Linked DNA regions of Homo sapiens: regions 2, 3, 4, 5 and 6 are each linked to region 1. Evidence: promoter capture Hi-C in 16 types of primary human blood cells and fetal thymus (Javierre and others, 2016). All regions are on one chromosome and are shown on one strand. The core of a region is centred on a gene start or on the middle of the fragment in contact, and the rest is flanking DNA. Distances in the headings are between cores, read along the strand shown.

Region 1 (2,700 bases), core at 155-2,654:
TTGTGGCTTATTTGGAAAGTGACATTATTTTATCAAATAACTGAGGCTCCAGAGAGGCTGGAGTCTGGGCAACTTATCCAAGGATGTCTTGATTGGGGTCACCAATCACTTTTATTCTAAATGTCATATTATTTGCTCTAGGTAGGCCCTCTGGGGGACATTGGCAGGTCTGAGGCAGAGTAAAAATTATAGCAAATACTGAGATCCAGCACTTACTATTGCCAGGCCCTGTTTTAAAAGCTTTACATGTATTTGCACATTTACTGCTCACAACCACCTTATGGGGAAGGTGCTAGGCAGGCAGGGAGGAGGAAATGGAAAGGGAAAGGAAAAGGGAAAAGAGCGGGGGAAGAAAGGAGCAAGAAAAAGTCAATGCAATTCGGCAATTATTTGTTAAGTGCTAACTGTATGTCAGGGTCTGGTAATCAACAGAACAGAGGAGGGTATAATGAAGAGGGGATATAGGTAGAGAAAAGAGGATGAGTGGGAAGAGGAGGAGGTTGGAGAGGAGGAAAGGAAAGGAGAAATAATGAAGACAAGAGAAAAGCAAGCCATGCACATGGAGGGCAATGGTAAGAGGAGAAACCTTTGCCACAACCTCAAGGGTTGGCCGCACTGTCTGGGCTGAGGCAGAGGCTGCTTTCTCCTGGCCCAGTCTTTTACCCATTGTTACCACGAGGTTGGCACAGCTTCCACACAGTCCTTTAATAAGCCAGCTCTGACCCTGGCGACATTTGGCCTGGTACAGCTCAAGGCAGGTAGCCTACACCCTGGCCTAGCCAGGCCTTTCCCTAGCTCACAAAGGTCAACTTCATAACGTGGAGCGTGAGCTTTTACCATGTTCTCAGAGAATCTGCCTCTTAGTATTTCTTTTTCTAAAGGCTTCATTGACCCATGTATCCCTATTGAGTCTTCAAGCACTATTTGACAGAAGGGCTTGTTTTTATCTGACTGCTCCCTGCAATATTACTTTTCCACTAAGTTTGCCAGAGGTACCCCTTTCTAACATTTGCTACCTGTTCGGATGGTCACCTCATGTCACATTTTTCTCTTCCTGTTCCGCCCACCCTCAGCCCTTGTCGGAAAGGACCCTTTCGGCCTCTCTAATCACCAGAAGGGACTGCCAGGGCCTTGTGCTGATGACACTCCCACCCTCCGTCAGCCTCCTCCACTAGCTGATAAATGGCACCAGCCATGCTGTCTCTCTGGTTTTTAGGGGTCCCAAGCAAGGTACATTGCTGCTGCTGCCCAGCCCCTGCCATACCCCAGACCCACCTCAGTCCTGACTTAATGCAGGTAGCTTCCCAGATGCATTGAGATGCCAGGACTTGGAAGGTGGGACTCGATCGCAGCAGACACTGGCCCTGGAGACATATTCTTACAGTCCAGAGAGGAAGGACAGTCTGAGCAAACCCCACCCTTTCACAGCCACTCAGTTCCCTTTTTTTGCTTCCTGACCTAAACCAATGTCTTTTTTTCTTCTCAGCAGCATGCTATCTGGTTCCCTGCTGCCGTCCCTATTCCACCCCCTCAACTGTCCCCGCCCTTCATTTGCTTGGGACCTCTGACACTACTATCTTGAGTCTATCTTTGAAAGAACCTTTCTCAACATGACTGGGGCCACTGAGACTCTAGATGGGGCTGGCCTGAGCAGACAGGTCATCAAGCTATCCTCCCAGAGGTAAAGGGACAACATACCTAAAGTACTATGAAGACAGTCAGCACAGGGAGAGGGGCTTACAGGAAAGAGGAGAGATGCTGGGGGCTGGCAGACACAGAGCAAAGAGACTGGCCAGGAAGAGCGTTTTTCGAGTCTCCTGTCCTCCGGGGCAGAGGAGTCTCAGGGACACACAGTTGAACTTGATAGTGAAGGGACCCCAAAGGACAAAACAAGACAGAGGTAGAGACAAGACTTCCCCGTGCTGAGTCATTTTCTAAGAAAGCATTTTTCCCCTACAGATAAAAATGTCGGAATATAAGCCCACAGAAATACTTGTGCCCTTCCCCATTTTCTGTGGATGTTGACTTTCTCCATTTAAGATTTGGCCTCAGGGATTAACTCTCAATGTCCACCTTTCTCTTGAGTCCTGTAAACCGGTAAAGCAGACTAGGTATGTCACTTGAAGCCTGGAGGTTTTCTCAGGGGCCCCCTACATTATGCTCCAACTGCAATGATTCCCCCAGGGATTCTCCTAGGAAATGCAGCCAGTATTGAATGCAGACCATGATGGTGGAGCCCCTGCTGACTGATCTGCCTGCCCACCTTGACACCTCGGGCACTGCCATATTTCCTTGCCCCAAGGCACTGTATCCTAATGTAGAAACAGATCACAGGTCCCACTACAATTTCATCCGAAGTTTTAAGTCAACAGGACCTTATTTTTTTTTCTTTATTTTGTCTAAAAAACAAACAAACAAGCAAACAAAAAAAATGGGGTATATGTGCAGAAGGTGCAAGTTTGTTACATAGGTATATGTGTGACATGGTGATTTGCTGCACCTATTGACCCATCCTCTAAGATCCCTCCCCTCACCCCCAAGCCCCAACAGGCCCTGGGACCTTTTTTTTTTTTTTTTTTTTTTGAGACAGGGTCTTGCTCTGAAGCCCAGGTTGGAGTGCAGTGGCGTGATCATGGCTCACTGCAGCCTCCACCTCCTGGGCTCAAGTGATCCTCTCACCTCAGTCACCCTAGTACCTGG
Region 2 (2,700 bases), core at 22-2,521, 1.3 Mb after region 1:
ATGGCTGCATAGTATTCCATGGTGTATATGTGCCACATTTTCTTAATCCAGTCTATCATTGTTGGACATTTGGGTTGGTTCCAAGTCTTTGCTATTGTGAATAATGCCGCAATAAACATACGTGTGCATGTGTCTTTATAGCAGCATGATTTACAAGAAAAAAACAAACAACCCCATCAAAAAGTGGGCGAAGGACATGAACAGACACTTCTCAAAAGAAGACATTTATGCAGCCAAAAAATACATGAAAAAATGCTCATCATCACTGGCCATCAGAGAAATGCAAATCAAAACCACTATGAGATACCATCTCACACCAGTTAGAATGGCAATCATTAAAAAGTCAGGAAACAACAGGTGCTGGAGAGGATGTGGAGAAATAGGAACACTTTTACACTGTTGGTGGGACTGTAAACTAGTTCAACCATTGTGGAAGTCAGTGTGGCGATTCCTCAGGGATCTAGAACTGGAAATACCATTTGACCCAGCCATCCCATTACTGGGTATATACCCAAATGAGAAGCTACCTTTCTTACTTTGTCCCTTCCCTCCAGTTATCCCTCCCCCGCTATAATGTCTGTCAAAAGCCTGTCGATCCTTCAAATATTTTCTACAAGGCCATCCACCCCCTACATGGTGACACTCCTGATCCCTCTCACCAACTCCATGAACTTTCACCTTCTTTTGAGCCCACTTCCTAATCTAATGTGTTTATACCTTCACTCCAGCGGTTAACTTGTACTGTTTGATTGGACAGCCATTCAGATAATCTTCATATTCTGCCATTAACATTCCTGATCCTTCCTTCTCTGTGTATCTTTGTTTATCCTTGGCCCAGGTATTCAATGCTGGTTCAGGTTAGTGGAAACACCTTGCTTCAGAATCAAGTAAATACTTCCTTTGAGATGGGACTGTACACTAGAAAGTTTGTCTTAGAAAGAGATGGTAAGCTTAGAACATACTGTTTTTAATGTGTTTATGACCTTAGCGGCATATATTTTTAATTTTTAAGTCATTTACTAATGGAATTGGATAATGTAGTATTGCACTGTTGTTTTGATATTAGTAAAGAGGTTAAACATATTTTCAGATGTTTATTACCTAGTTGTATTTTCTTTCTTGTGAGTGGATATTTTTAGGTTTTCCCCATTTGCCTTTAGAGGTCCTTGGTTTAGAGGTTTTCAGAGGTTCAAGAAATCCTTATAAATTTCTGTGCACACACAAACCTATGAACAGTCCAGCAATTTTGAAAGGAAAGTAATTTGGAGGTTGGGCAGGAATCTAAAATTTTTTTTATCAACCTATGGTTATTAAAACAGTAGAACTGACTCAGGAAAAGATAAATGGGACACAGAGAGCCCATATATAGGCATTTATACTAAGACGACAGTTCAGATTCATGGAAAAAAGTGAAATATTCAGTCTGCTGTGGGTCCTCAAGACCATCCACATGTTCAATGATTTGCTAGCAGGACACACAGGACTTGGCATATAGTTGTACTCACAGCTGTGATTTATTACAGTGAAAGGATACAAAACCAAACCAGCAAAGGGGGAAAAAGCATGGAGCAAAATCTAGAAGAAAATAGGCTCAAGCTTCCAAGAGTCCTCTTGCTGTGTGTGGTCACACAGGATATGCTTAATTCCTCCAACAATTAATTGTGACAACATGTGTGAAATGTTTTGTCTACCAAAGACAACATTAGAGACTCAATGCCCAAGATTTTTACTGGGGGCTTTTCATGTATCTGCCCTTTGCCTAGCACAGGCCAAAATTCCAGAATCCAAGAAGGAAAGAAAGTATTTTGCATGAACCACATTGTTTGCACAAAAAGTTTATGTACAGTGAGCCATTCTTATCAGCTCTAGGAATGGTGGGAATTCTCCCTTAGTCCAAGTTCCCAGACTCCAGGGCCGTCCTGGCAAGCAGGAGTTTCTAAGGAGAGCAATCTCAGGCCTGCTATGTTAACGTTTTTTTTTTTTTTTTTTTGCATATTTAGTGAACGGTGTTGGAATAATTAGCTAGTTATTTGGGAAAACAAGTTAAATTCCAATACACATGAACAAATCCCAGGAAGATTAAATGTCTTAATGAGTGTTTTAAATGGAGTGGAAGGAGAAATAAATACTCATTTACCTAGAATGAATTTTGGCTGGTAAATGAAAAATGGAAGAGGAAAATAGAAATGGATTTTTTTCTACATAATACCAGTATCATTTATTCAATAATACGCCCCTACTCCAACAATTTCTCATGTCTCTTTTGAAATTGATGATGTCATTTTCACATGTGTTTCTGAGGTAACTGTTCTCTGGTGTTAGAAACATACCAGTTCACTTACTGCAGTTTATAATAAGCATTGTGTCTTATCTGAGATGTTATATACATAACTCACATACATAGTTGGGCTCTCTAGTTAATTTCATCTCCAATTAATTTTATTTTCATATTCCATCAATTAGATTGATTAGTGGTGAGGGACACTAATATTCTTCTATAACTCCCTTGAAACTTTCTTGGAGTTTCAAAATGGAAAAGGCTGTTGATCAGGCCAAAGGATGTGTCTCTGTGTTGCCAGGTCTACTGGATGTCCTCAAGAAGCCATCCATAATAACACTTAGTACCTTGATGGCATTAAAAGAAGTACACAATATCTGGCCCTAGACCATACCAGCTCAGAAGCTCAATAACCTCATAAC
Region 3 (2,700 bases), core at 1-2,500, 1.3 Mb after region 1:
ACCAAAGTTGAGACAAGTGCAGTGGGTGGGGCACGCCCTAAGAGTAAGGCCAAGGCAATACCTGTTTCACGATTTAAGGAAGAAGCCCAGATGTGGGCTCAGCCCAGGTTTGGTGCTGAAAGATTGTCTAAGACAGAGAGAAACTCCCAGACCAATATCATAGCCTCTCCACTTGTCAGTACTGATTCTGTCTTGGTTGCTAAAACAAAGTACCTGTCTGAGGATAGAGAACTGGTTAATACAGACACTGAGAGCTTTCCTAGAAGGAAGGCCCATTACCAAGCAGGATTCCAGCCTTCTTTTAGGTCAAAGGAGGAGACCAATATGGGGTCCTGGTGCTGTCCTAGGCCTACATCCAAACAAGAAGCCTCTCCTAATTCTGATTTCAAATGGGTAGACAAATCTGTGAGTTCCTTGTTCTGGAGTGGAGATGAGGTCACTGCAAAATTTCATCCTGGGAATAGGGTAAAAGACAGTAACAGATCCATGCACATGGCCAATCAAGAGGCTAATACCATGTCTAGGTCCCAAACTAACCAGGAGCTCTATATTGCATCTAGTTCTGGTTCTGAGGATGAGTCTGTTAAGACACCCTGGTTCTGGGCCAGAGATAAAACCAATACCTGGTCTGGGCCCAGGGAAGATCCCAATAGCAGGTCCAGGTTTAGGTCTAAGAAAGAAGTCTATGTTGAATCAAGTTCTGGATCTGAGCATGAAGACCATTTGGAGTCCTGGTTTGGGGCTGGAAAGGAGGCCAAATTCAGGTCCAAAATGAGAGCTGGGAAGGAGGCCAATAACAGGGCCAGGCACAGGGCCAAGCGAGAAGCTTGCATTGATTTCATGCCTGGGTCTATAGATGTAATTAAAAAAGAGTCCTGTTTCTGGCCTGAAGAAAATGCTAATACCTTTTCAAGGCCCATGATCAAGAAAGAGGCCAGGGCCAGAGCAATGACAAAGGAAGAGGCCAAAACCAAGGCCCGAGCCAGGGCCAAGCAAGAAGCCAGGTCAGAGGAGGAAGCCCTCATTGGGACCTGGTTCTGGGCTACAGACGAGTCCAGCATGGCAGATGAAGCCAGCATAGAGTCCAGTCTACAAGTGGAGGATGAGTCCATAATTGGGAGTTGGTTCTGGACTGAAGAAGAGGCCAGTATGGGGACTGGGGCTAGCAGTAAATCCAGACCAAGGACTGATGGGGAGCGTATTGGTGATTCCTTATTTGGGGCTAGGGAAAAGACCAGTATGAAAACTGGGGCTGAGGCCACCTCTGAATCTATACTAGCAGCTGATGATGAACAGGTCATTATTGGTTCCTGGTTCTGGGCTGGTGAAGAGGTCAACCAAGAGGCTGAGGAAGAGACCATTTTTGGGTCGTGGTTCTGGGTCATTGATGCGGCCAGTGTGGAATCTGGTGTTGGGGTCAGCTGTGAGTCCAGGACAAGGTCTGAGGAAGAAGAGGTCATTGGTCCCTGGTTTTGGTCTGGAGAACAAGTTGATATAGAGGCTGGAATCGGAGAAGAGGCCAGGCCAGGAGCTGAAGAAGAGACAATATTCGGGTCCTGGTTTTGGGCTGAAAACCAGACCTATATGGATTGTAGGGCTGAAACTAGCTGTGACACCATGCAAGGGGCTGAGGAGGAGGAGCCCATTATTGGGTCCTGGTTTTGGACCAGAGTAGAAGCTTGTGTGGAGGGTGATGTCAACAGCAAGTCTAGCCTGGAGGACAAGGAAGAGGCCATGATACCATGTTTTGGAGCCAAAGAAGAGGTCAGTATGAAGCATGGGACTGGTGTCAGATGCAGATTTATGGCAGGGGCTGAGGAGACCAATAATAAGTCTTGCTTCTGGGCAGAAAAAGAACCCTGTATGTATCCTGCCGGTGGAGGAAGTTGGAAGTCTAGGCCAGAGGAGGAAGAGGACATTGTCAATTCGTGGTTCTGGTCCAGAAAATACACAAAGCCAGAGGCCATTATAGGGTCCTGGTTATGGGCTACAGAAGAGAGTAATATAGATGGGACTGGAGAAAAGGCCAAGTTACTGACTGAAGAGGAGACCATAATCAATTCCTGGTTCTGGAAAGAAGATGAAGCCATTTCAGAGGCTACTGACAGAGAAGAGTCCAGGCCAGAAGCTGAGGAGGGGGACATTATTGGTTCTTGGTTCTGGGCTGGAGAAGAGGACAGACTAGAGCCAGCTGCTGAGACTAGAGAAGAAGACAGGCTAGCAGCTGAGAAAGAAGGTATTGTTGGGTCCTGGTTTGGGGCCAGAGAAGAGACCATTAGAAGAGAGGCTGGGTCTTGCAGCAAATCCAGTCCTAAAGCTGAAGAGGAAGAAGTCATTATTGGGTCCTGGTTCTGGGAAGAAGAGGCCAGTCCGGAGGCAGTGGCAGGAGTCGGCTTTGAGTCAAAGCCTGGGACTGAGGAGGAAGAAATCACTGTTGGGTCCTGGTTCTGGCCTGAAGAAGAAGCCAGTATACAGGCTGGATCTCAGGCAGTAGAGGAAATGGAGTCAGAGACTGAAGAGGAAACCATTTTTGGGTCCTGGTTCTGGGATGGAAAAGAAGTCAGTGAAGAAGCAGGACCATGCTGTGTATCCAAGCCAGAGGATGATGAAGAGATGATTGTTGAGTCCTGGTTCTGGTCTAGAGACAAAGCCATTAAGGAAACTGGAACTGTGGCCACCTGTGAGTCCAAGCCAGAAAAT
Region 4 (2,700 bases), core at 22-2,521, 1.8 Mb after region 1:
TTAGAATTCTAATTGAATATTGTTTTGTCTCAGCCTAAAAGTTACGGTCAGCATGGCAATTCACCTATTTTAGGAAAAATACTCTTTTCATAATATGAAATGCATAAAGCAGTTCAAAAAGCAGTCTGTATTCCATCATCTTCCTTTTTCATTCCAGTCCTTATTTTTGTAAGTATTACTTTTCCTCCTCCGGCTACCTGGACTCAAAATCTCAGTTGTCTTTGACAGTTTTTTTCTTGTCCCTGACCAAAAAAGAATGATCATACCCAGAATTCAATGTTTGATATTTTAAGAATGTATGTTCTAGTGTTTTTCAGAGTGAGTCTACCATCTGTATAAAAACACCTTGGGGGCAGGCAGGGGCATTTAAAAATGTAGGACCTATCGTCCAGACTCACAGAGTGGGGCTCCAGAATCTCCATTTTTAACAAACTCTCTTAAGTAATTCTGATGTGTACCAAAATCAGTGCCATTGGTGTGTGTGTACGTAACTATATACATATGTGTGTGTGTGTATATATATAATGTGTCATAACCGTAAACAATAAACAATATCAAGATAAATCTGACTTTGATGGGCAAGTAATTAAAAAAGAAAAGTATGAGACCTTAAAATAAGACTGATGATTATAGGAGTGGTAGGGACAGTGGCAAAGTTATTCACTGTGCAAAGCAAAACATGCCTGAAGGTCACAGCCTGAGGAACTCAGAATTCATCACCCCTGTCAGCAGTTTCACATCCAGGATCTCATTTTATTCTTAGAACAACCTATAAAATCTGTATTGTTATCCCACTTTTACAGATGAGGTCACTGGGGCTTAGAGATGTTAAGTACCAAGGCTAACTCCTGCTGAATATCTTGGGGGTGGGGGAATCCAGCCTGGGCCATTTTCTATTGGACCTTATCATCTGGAGATGCAGAATATTTGACTTTTGTAACTTGATGACAAGCTGAGGATGGTAAAAGAGACTCAGCAAGAATGGGGCTGTTTTTCTATACACTGTTTTTCTACATCTCAAGTACACTTTAATTTTTAGAATATTGAGGGATAAAAAAAGTAAGATCCTCTAGTGTTGTTCAAAGTTAGGATTGCCACTCTATGGCTCTTGAAATCAGTTTTGTGGGTTACAACAAGCAATTTTTTAAAAAGAGAACAAAAGTCATCCTATCACCCGTGAGTAGTGTTAAGAATTGTTTTGGAGAAAATAATGTGTTCTATGTAGTAAATATTGCCACCTTTATGATGTATTTCTAACTAGATCACAGTGAAAAAAGAATGAAAATCACTTATTTGGTGCAAACTTGGTTTCACAAGTGAAGAATTGTTAAGAAAGCGATTTTTCCTAAGGTCATACAGCCAATTAGTGAAAGCTGTGACCACAGCCTTGGTGCTTCAGGGTGCTTGTCTTCTCACCACATTGCCTCCACAAAGAATTATTTGGAAATTTTTGCATTATGTACTGATTGCCAATCAGTGTAAATGGAAAAGCATATACAACTTATGCAAAAATCACTTTATATGAACTTCACACTATTTAGTCATCAGAATTCCTGCATGTTCAACTGAGAACCACATTTAAGGGAAACTCTGCCTCAGATAATTTTGGAGCTGGAGTGATCTTTCACCTGTCTAGAGGAAGAGGATGATATAGAGTCTGATTTGAAAATGCACAGTGGTGAACTCAGGCACTTCAAAAAGGCTAGTTGACTGAGTAGAGTCCATGAATGATCTTTTGGTTCCTCTGAAAATGAGTACTATGCCTTCTGGCAAAGACCAATTGTGGATTTCCCAAAGTAGCCTCAATCTACCTCCCTCACAAAAAAAGCTAGCTGTGGGGGTGTGAGATCAGAACATGATTAGTTGAAAGAAAGCTGAAGCCTCCTCACTGGGGTTTTTGGGGGAGAATGAGGAATAAGGACAGACTTTCTGGAAGAAATAAAAGTGTCAATGCTTGGGTTCAGAATATGGTTTTTTGAAGTACCAAAATGAGCCCTGTCTCCTTGGTGTTTCTGGGAGAGTGGGATGATAAGAACAGAATTTGCTGGAAATGGTAAAGGTCAGGGAACGGGGTCACAATGTAATTGGTTGAAGGAGAACTAAATTAAGACTCCTATCGTGGGAGTTTCTGTGATGGTAGGCGACGAGCACAAAACTTTAGAGGACATAACGTTCAGTGACCAGAACATGATCAGGAGCGTGATTGAAGAACTGAAGAAAACTCCCTTACCTCTGTGTTGCTGCAAGGGTGGAGGAGTAAAGAGAGAACTTTCTAGAAAAAGCTAGAGGGGGCTGGATCAGGTGACTGAAGAAGAACAGAGCTATCACAGCGAACACATTTATACATCCCATGGGAGGGTCAACTTTCCTTGATCTTGGTGGGCAATACATTTTGTCTTTTTAAGGTGACAACAGAGAGATGTCAGTGAATGCCTCTAAAGAGACTAGCAAGAAAGTATAATGACTCTTTTATAAAAACCAACAAAAGCAAATAAACCAAGAGTGAAGAAAAAGGGCTAACACATTCATCCCTATCAGTGGTTTATACATTCATATTTGTAAAATTTTAGTTTCTTGAGGAAAATGTGCATGTTTTTATGGATTTTGGAGCAAAGCTTGGGAAGGATGCCTGTCAACTAATGCCTGGCAAATCTTCCAGAACTTAAGAGGAGAAAGACTGACAAGACCTCTGAGAAGAGG
Region 5 (2,700 bases), core at 50-2,549, 1.6 Mb after region 1:
TTTTCTGAGAAAGGAACTCAGATTATACAAAAGTAAGTTGCTCAAATTTTAAGACCAGGAAGGTCAATTTCTATGTTCATTCAAAAAAACTATAAACATCAGCTCTATGAGAAAAGTAGGCCAGTTTCCCTTCCCTTTCTATTTATCTAGTCTTCAATCATGGGGAATCTAGTCACTGATCTTTCTAGCTGCTTCATTCTAAGGGGCATCGTGGGATAATGAAGAATGAAAACATACCTGTAACTGGAAATACTCACAAGTACCTGGCTAGTTTCTGGCTTTTTGGAACTAGAGTGATTAATAATGTAGAACATGGAGAAGATCCCCTAGGGAGTTTAAGAACAATCCTAAGCCTATCCAAAAGTCAACTGTGGGATAAATTGACTGATAGAGCAAGAGTTTGTGAAATATGGGTTAATGGGTTACCTTCCCATCTAGAAGCAGGAAAGATCTAGAGAACAATAACCTGAAAAGTGCATATTCCCTTCATGATTTCTTATCTAGAGTCTTTGACAGGGCTTTGAATATTAAGGCTGTCAGAAGTTTATAAGACCATGACTGTTTCCCCTGGAGGGAACCCAGAGGGACTGGTTTTCTCAAATATGATAAATATACAGCTTAACACTGGCCAAATTAACAGATGAGTAGGTAGTCAGCAGCACCTCAAGGATCAATCCATTGTGGTTGCAACTCGTCTTCAGCCTGGAATTACCAGGTTTTCAGCAGGGCTTGGTCCTTCAGTGTCAGAGTAGAGAGGCATATCACTAGGGAACTAATCTGTCAGAAAAAAACTCAGACTAATTGGTTTTTGTTTTGTATGTGATTTAGCTTTTGTTGGGAAGAAAAATCCTCAGATGGGGAGTCTACAGGTCAGAGAAATGGTCGCCTATATAACATTTCAAAGGGGCTAAGAGCCAACCCACCTCTAGGGGCTACCCATACTCTCAGCAGGGCAAGGGGTAAGACCTTTTCCCAGGTAAGATTTGTCTCCTGGGAAGCTTTAGAAAGAGACTTCCTTAATGTCCTACTTATTCTTTCAGCCATCCCAGAAGTTTGAGGTCGCCAAAATAAATGCAGTTTCCAATCAGTACTCAGTGACCACAATACTTTCTGGGCTACTCGGGCTATAAAAACAGCTCCATTGTCACTTTGGAGAGTGTGTAAGAGTCCTAAATCAAGGAATATGCTTCATTAGAGCCTTTACAACTTCAGTAGCTTTCTCAGTCTTGGTGGGGCAAGCCTCAACCCAACCTATAAAGGTACTGACAAAAACCAGCATCAAATATACAGGGGCTCAGGGCATTATAGTGAAATCTAATTGCCAGTATTCCCTAGGATGAGTTACTTTCCATTGATTTCCTTGTTTAAAGGGAACTTTTGTGCCTTCCTGGGGCTTTGGGTTATTTTTTCAAGCAGATAGGACAACTTTGGACTACAGTTTGTATTGTTCATTGCAAGTTAGGCCGAAAGATAAGGCTGTATCCAGCATAGAGTAGCTTCCCACTATAATGGGTGCTTTGGATTTGTTCATGAATTGGTCTAATTAAAGTTTCTGGAAGGATAACTTCTTCCTTCATTATTTGTAAGCCATTTATGATCAGCAAGCTTAGAAAATCCTCCTTGCTCAGCTCTTTTAAGATAAGACTCTGAATATCCTGGGAAATACGGATCTAAACAGAGTAGGAACAAGAGCCAGTCTGAGTGGTGAGCCCCCTGACCACATTTTTCACCTCTAGGTCAGTCTTAATATTTATTTATGCAACATGGGTGTCCAGTGTCTTTGACGGTGAATAACTGCTGCTACTTTGGGCATTTTTACTGTCTCCAATAATTCAAGAATTTGAGGACCATGCTTTATTATTAGAATTAAAAAGGCCAACTTTCCTTCCAAATTACCCGGTGAGCATGGGATATTAGGAAAACATACTTAGAGTCAATATAAATGTTGACTTTCCTTCCCTTAACCAAATGTATAGCTCTGGTTAAAGCAATGAGCTCAGCCTTTTGGGCGGACGTCCAGGGGCTTCATCTATGTGCTGGGTAGTAACTATAGCATGTCTGGCCCTTCTGACTCCTTGTTCCATGAAACTGCTCCCATCAGTGAAGCAATCTTTGGATTTTGTCAATGGCAAATCTGAGGTCTGGACTACTGGAATAAACCTGATCAATTATTTTAATGCAGTCATGATGAGGAGGCTGGAGATTCCCTGGTAGCAGGGTGACAGGATTCAGACTAGAAACAGCCTTAAGACTTACATTTGGGTTTTCTAGAAGCCTGGCTTGGTACTTTCCCAGTTGGCCAAACAATTAACCAATAGCCTCCTTTCTGCTCAAGCGAAGATAACGTATAATGCATAGTATACACTGTCAGTTTTCAGCTTCCTGCAACATGTCACAGGTAGCAGCCACTGCCCTTAGGCAGATAGGCCAGCCATTAGTTATCATGTCGAGCTGTTTCAAAACATAGGCCACAGGATGTTTTTAAAGTTCTAAGGTCTTGAGTTAATATTCCAATTCCCTGTCCTCCTTGAAGATTTGCATAAGTCAGGAATACCCAGTACTTTCAATGTCTCTTTGAATGACAGGGTCAGAAGAACACATATTTCCGAAAGGTTGTGACTAAGGGTTGGAGACCCCTTCTAGCCTGGAGCTTTAGAAAATACTGTTTAATCCAGGGGTTGTAATTCCTGGTCTCAACAT
Region 6 (2,700 bases), core at 17-2,516, 1.2 Mb after region 1:
CATTTAGGGGAAGGTCTAAAGTGGAAAATCTCAATATGGTGTAATGGATCCCTACTTTTAATAGCTATCTGTAGTTTAATTTCTACTAGGATCAGTTGTGAATCTATTGTGGTACATCTAAAAGTTTAAATGAAGCACAGTTAGCTACACTTGTGCATTAAGGGAAACAAGCAAGGTAGTTTTTTTGCAATGTGAAACTTCAATTTAGATGATTTTTGAAGTTCTTTATAACATTTTTTAATCCACAGAACTCCTGTAGCCTGTAATACCAGCTGTGGGTACTACTCTCAGTGTTGGAGATCATCAAAATACAATTGGACCAGACCCTTTGGAAATAATTCTGTGTCTCAAATGCCCTGTGGAGCACACACTTAATCAGTTGATGGCTATGGAATTTTCCAACATCAGCTAAAGAGAAGGGTGAGTGTGGGGTGTGTACGTATTTGTGTCAAAGCACAAAGTTGATGGTCTCTCCTTGGATGGGAATTGTGGGATGCGAAGTCATCTCCTAGATTGTTCATGAGGTGTCATCTGTTGATGGACACTTAGGTTGTTTCCATCTTTTGGCTCTTATGAATATTGCTGCAGTGAACATTGGAGTACAAGTATCTGTTTGAGTCCCTGATTTAAATTCTTTTGGGTATATACCTAGACGTGGAATTGCTGGGTTGTATGATTTGTTTAGCTTTTTGAGGAATTACCAGCTGTTTTCCACAGTGCCTGTACCATTTTACATTCCCGTCAGCAATATGCAAGGGTTCCAATTTATCCACATTCTTGGTGACACTTGTTATTTTCCATTATTATTTAAATAGCCATCTTAGGAGGTGTGAAGTAGTATATCATTGTGGTTTTAATTTGCATTTCCCGAAAGTCTTATGATGTTGAGCATCTTTTCATGTGCTTATTGGCCATTTGAGTATATTTTTTAGAGAATGTATGTTTACGTTCTTTGCTCATTTTTAATTGTGTTTTTGGTTATTGTTGCATTGTAGGAGTTTTAAAATATATATATTCTGGATACATGCCCCTTATTAGCTATGTGATTTGCAAATATTTTCTCCTGTTCTGTAGGTTTTTTCACTTTTGATGATGTCATTTGATGTGCAAAAGTTTTTAATTTCAATGAAGCCCAATTTATCTATTTTTTTCTTTTGTTGCTGGTGCTTTTGGTGTCATATCTAAGAATTCATCACCAAATTCAAGGTCACAAAGATACCCATATGTTTTCTTCTAAAAGTTGTATAGTTTTAAACATCAGAGTAATTAGTGTTTCTATCACCTCAAACATTTATCATTTCTTTGTTTTGGGAACATTCGAAATCTTTTCTTGCTATTTGAAAATATATAATTATTTATTGTTAACTGTAGTCACCCTACATTGCTATATAGATCATTAGAACTTATTCCTCCTATCTTGCTGTAATTTTGTATCTGTTAACCAACCTTTCCCACCCCATTCCTTTCCCTATATTCTCTTAACTTTTAATTGAAAAAAAAAAACCACAATAACTTTTGCACCATCCTAATAGTAACCACTATTCTACACTCTACTTCTATGAGATGAGCTTTTATAGCTTCCACATGTGAATGATAATATGTGGTATTTATCTTTCTGTGCCTGGCTTATTTCATATAATGTCCTCCAGGTTCATCCATGTTTCCACCAATGACAGGATTTCTTTCATTGTTATGGCTGAATAGTGGTCTGTTGTGTATATATACCACATTTTTTTATCCTTGCATCTGTTTATGGGTACTTATATTGATTCCATATCTTGGCTGTTGTGAATAGTGCTGTGATAAACATGAGAGTGCAGATATCTCTTTGATATACTGATATCCTTTCTTTTTGATACATACCCAGCAGTAAGATTGCTGGATCATATGGTAGTTCTATTTTTAGTTTATTGAGAAATCTCCATGCTGTTTTTCATAATGGCTGTACTAATTTACATTCCCACCTACAATGTATAAGAGTTCCATTTTCTCTGCATCCGTACCACCATTTGTTATTTTTTTTTGTCTTTTTGACAATAGCCATTCTAACTGGGGTGTGATGATATCTCACTGTGGTTTTGATTTGCATTTCCCTGATGATTAGTGATGTTGAGTGTTTTTTCATATAATTTTTGGCCACTTGTATGTCTTCTTTTGAGAAATGCCTATTCAGATCATTTGCCAATTTTTAAATTGAATTATTTGTGTTTTTGTTGTTTAGCTGTTTGAGCTCCTTGTGTAGTCGTGTTCTACACAATGTTTCAGTCAATGATGGACTGCATGTATGACAGTGGTCCCATAAGAATATAATACCAAATTTTTGCTGTACCTTTTATATGATTAGATACATGAATACTTACCACTGTCTTACAATTGCCTGCATTATTCAATACAATAACATTCTATACAGGTGTGTAGCCTAGGAGCAGTAGGCTATACTATGCAGCCTAGGTATGTAGTAGGCTATACCATCTAGGTATTTGTAAGTAGTACTTTTCTTCTTCTAAGTAGAAGAGCTTTTTTGCCCTTCTTCTTTTAGAAGATCTTAAGAAAATCTGAATCTATGATAGTCTTACAATGGTGAAAATGCCTAAGGACACATTTCTCAGAATGTATCCACATGGTTAAGCAATACATGACTATATATTCTGGATATTAGTCCCTTGTCAGATGAATAGTTTGCAAGTATTTTCTCCCATT

The links. Contacts are between HindIII fragments. The CHiCAGO score rates a contact against its expected background, and 5 or more counts as called.
Region 2: a fragment that was not itself captured here is called in contact with the fragment with the promoter of BTK in region 1 in 1 of 17 cell types (M1 macrophages); the score reaches 6.0 in M1 macrophages.
Region 3: a fragment that was not itself captured here is called in contact with the fragment with the promoter of BTK in region 1 in 1 of 17 cell types (neutrophils); the score reaches 5.1 in neutrophils.
Region 4: a fragment that was not itself captured here is called in contact with the fragment with the promoter of BTK in region 1 in 1 of 17 cell types (M1 macrophages); the score reaches 5.2 in M1 macrophages.
Region 5: a fragment that was not itself captured here is called in contact with the fragment with the promoter of BTK in region 1 in 1 of 17 cell types (M2 macrophages); the score reaches 5.4 in M2 macrophages.
Region 6: a fragment that was not itself captured here is called in contact with the fragment with the promoter of BTK in region 1 in 1 of 17 cell types (M0 macrophages); the score reaches 5.7 in M0 macrophages.

The regions. Positions count from the first base shown.
Region 1 is chrX:101,384,787-101,387,486 of GRCh38, forward strand. It overlaps BTK (Bruton tyrosine kinase), which reads right to left and starts at 1,405. Exons shown (of 19, transcript NM_000061.3): 1 at 1,276-1,405. RefSeq lists an enhancer at 672-891. The HindIII fragment of the contact is 7,609 bases long and covers 239-2,700 here.
Region 2 is chrX:102,671,212-102,673,911 of GRCh38, forward strand. All of the region lies in intron 4 of ARMCX5-GPRASP2 (ARMCX5-GPRASP2 readthrough), which reads left to right. Among named protein-coding and RNA genes, the nearest start is that of GPRASP1, 21 kb to the left of the region's middle. The HindIII fragment of the contact is 646 bases long and covers 949-1,594 here.
Region 3 is chrX:102,654,103-102,656,802 of GRCh38, forward strand. The region is part of intron 4 of ARMCX5-GPRASP2 (ARMCX5-GPRASP2 readthrough); the gene reads left to right. GPRASP1 (G protein-coupled receptor associated sorting protein 1) reads left to right here. Exons shown (of 6, transcript NM_001184727.2): 6 at 1-2,700. Among named protein-coding and RNA genes, the nearest start is that of GPRASP1, 4.0 kb to the left of the region's middle. The HindIII fragment of the contact is 852 bases long and covers 825-1,676 here.
Region 4 is chrX:103,216,632-103,219,331 of GRCh38, forward strand. BEX4 (brain expressed X-linked 4) reads left to right here. Exons shown (of 3, transcript NM_001080425.4): 3 at 1-615. Among named protein-coding and RNA genes, the nearest start is that of BEX4, 2.9 kb to the left of the region's middle. The HindIII fragment of the contact is 2,684 bases long and covers 1-2,613 here.
Region 5 is chrX:102,989,176-102,991,875 of GRCh38, forward strand. No RefSeq gene overlaps it. Among named protein-coding and RNA genes, the nearest start is that of RAB40AL, 53 kb to the left of the region's middle. The HindIII fragment of the contact is 607 bases long and covers 997-1,603 here.
Region 6 is chrX:102,605,234-102,607,933 of GRCh38, forward strand. It overlaps ARMCX5-GPRASP2 (ARMCX5-GPRASP2 readthrough), which reads left to right. Exons shown (of 19, transcript NR_146584.3): 4 at 249-420. Among named protein-coding and RNA genes, the nearest start is that of ARMCX5-GPRASP2, 7.1 kb to the left of the region's middle. The HindIII fragment of the contact is 2,962 bases long and covers 1-2,700 here.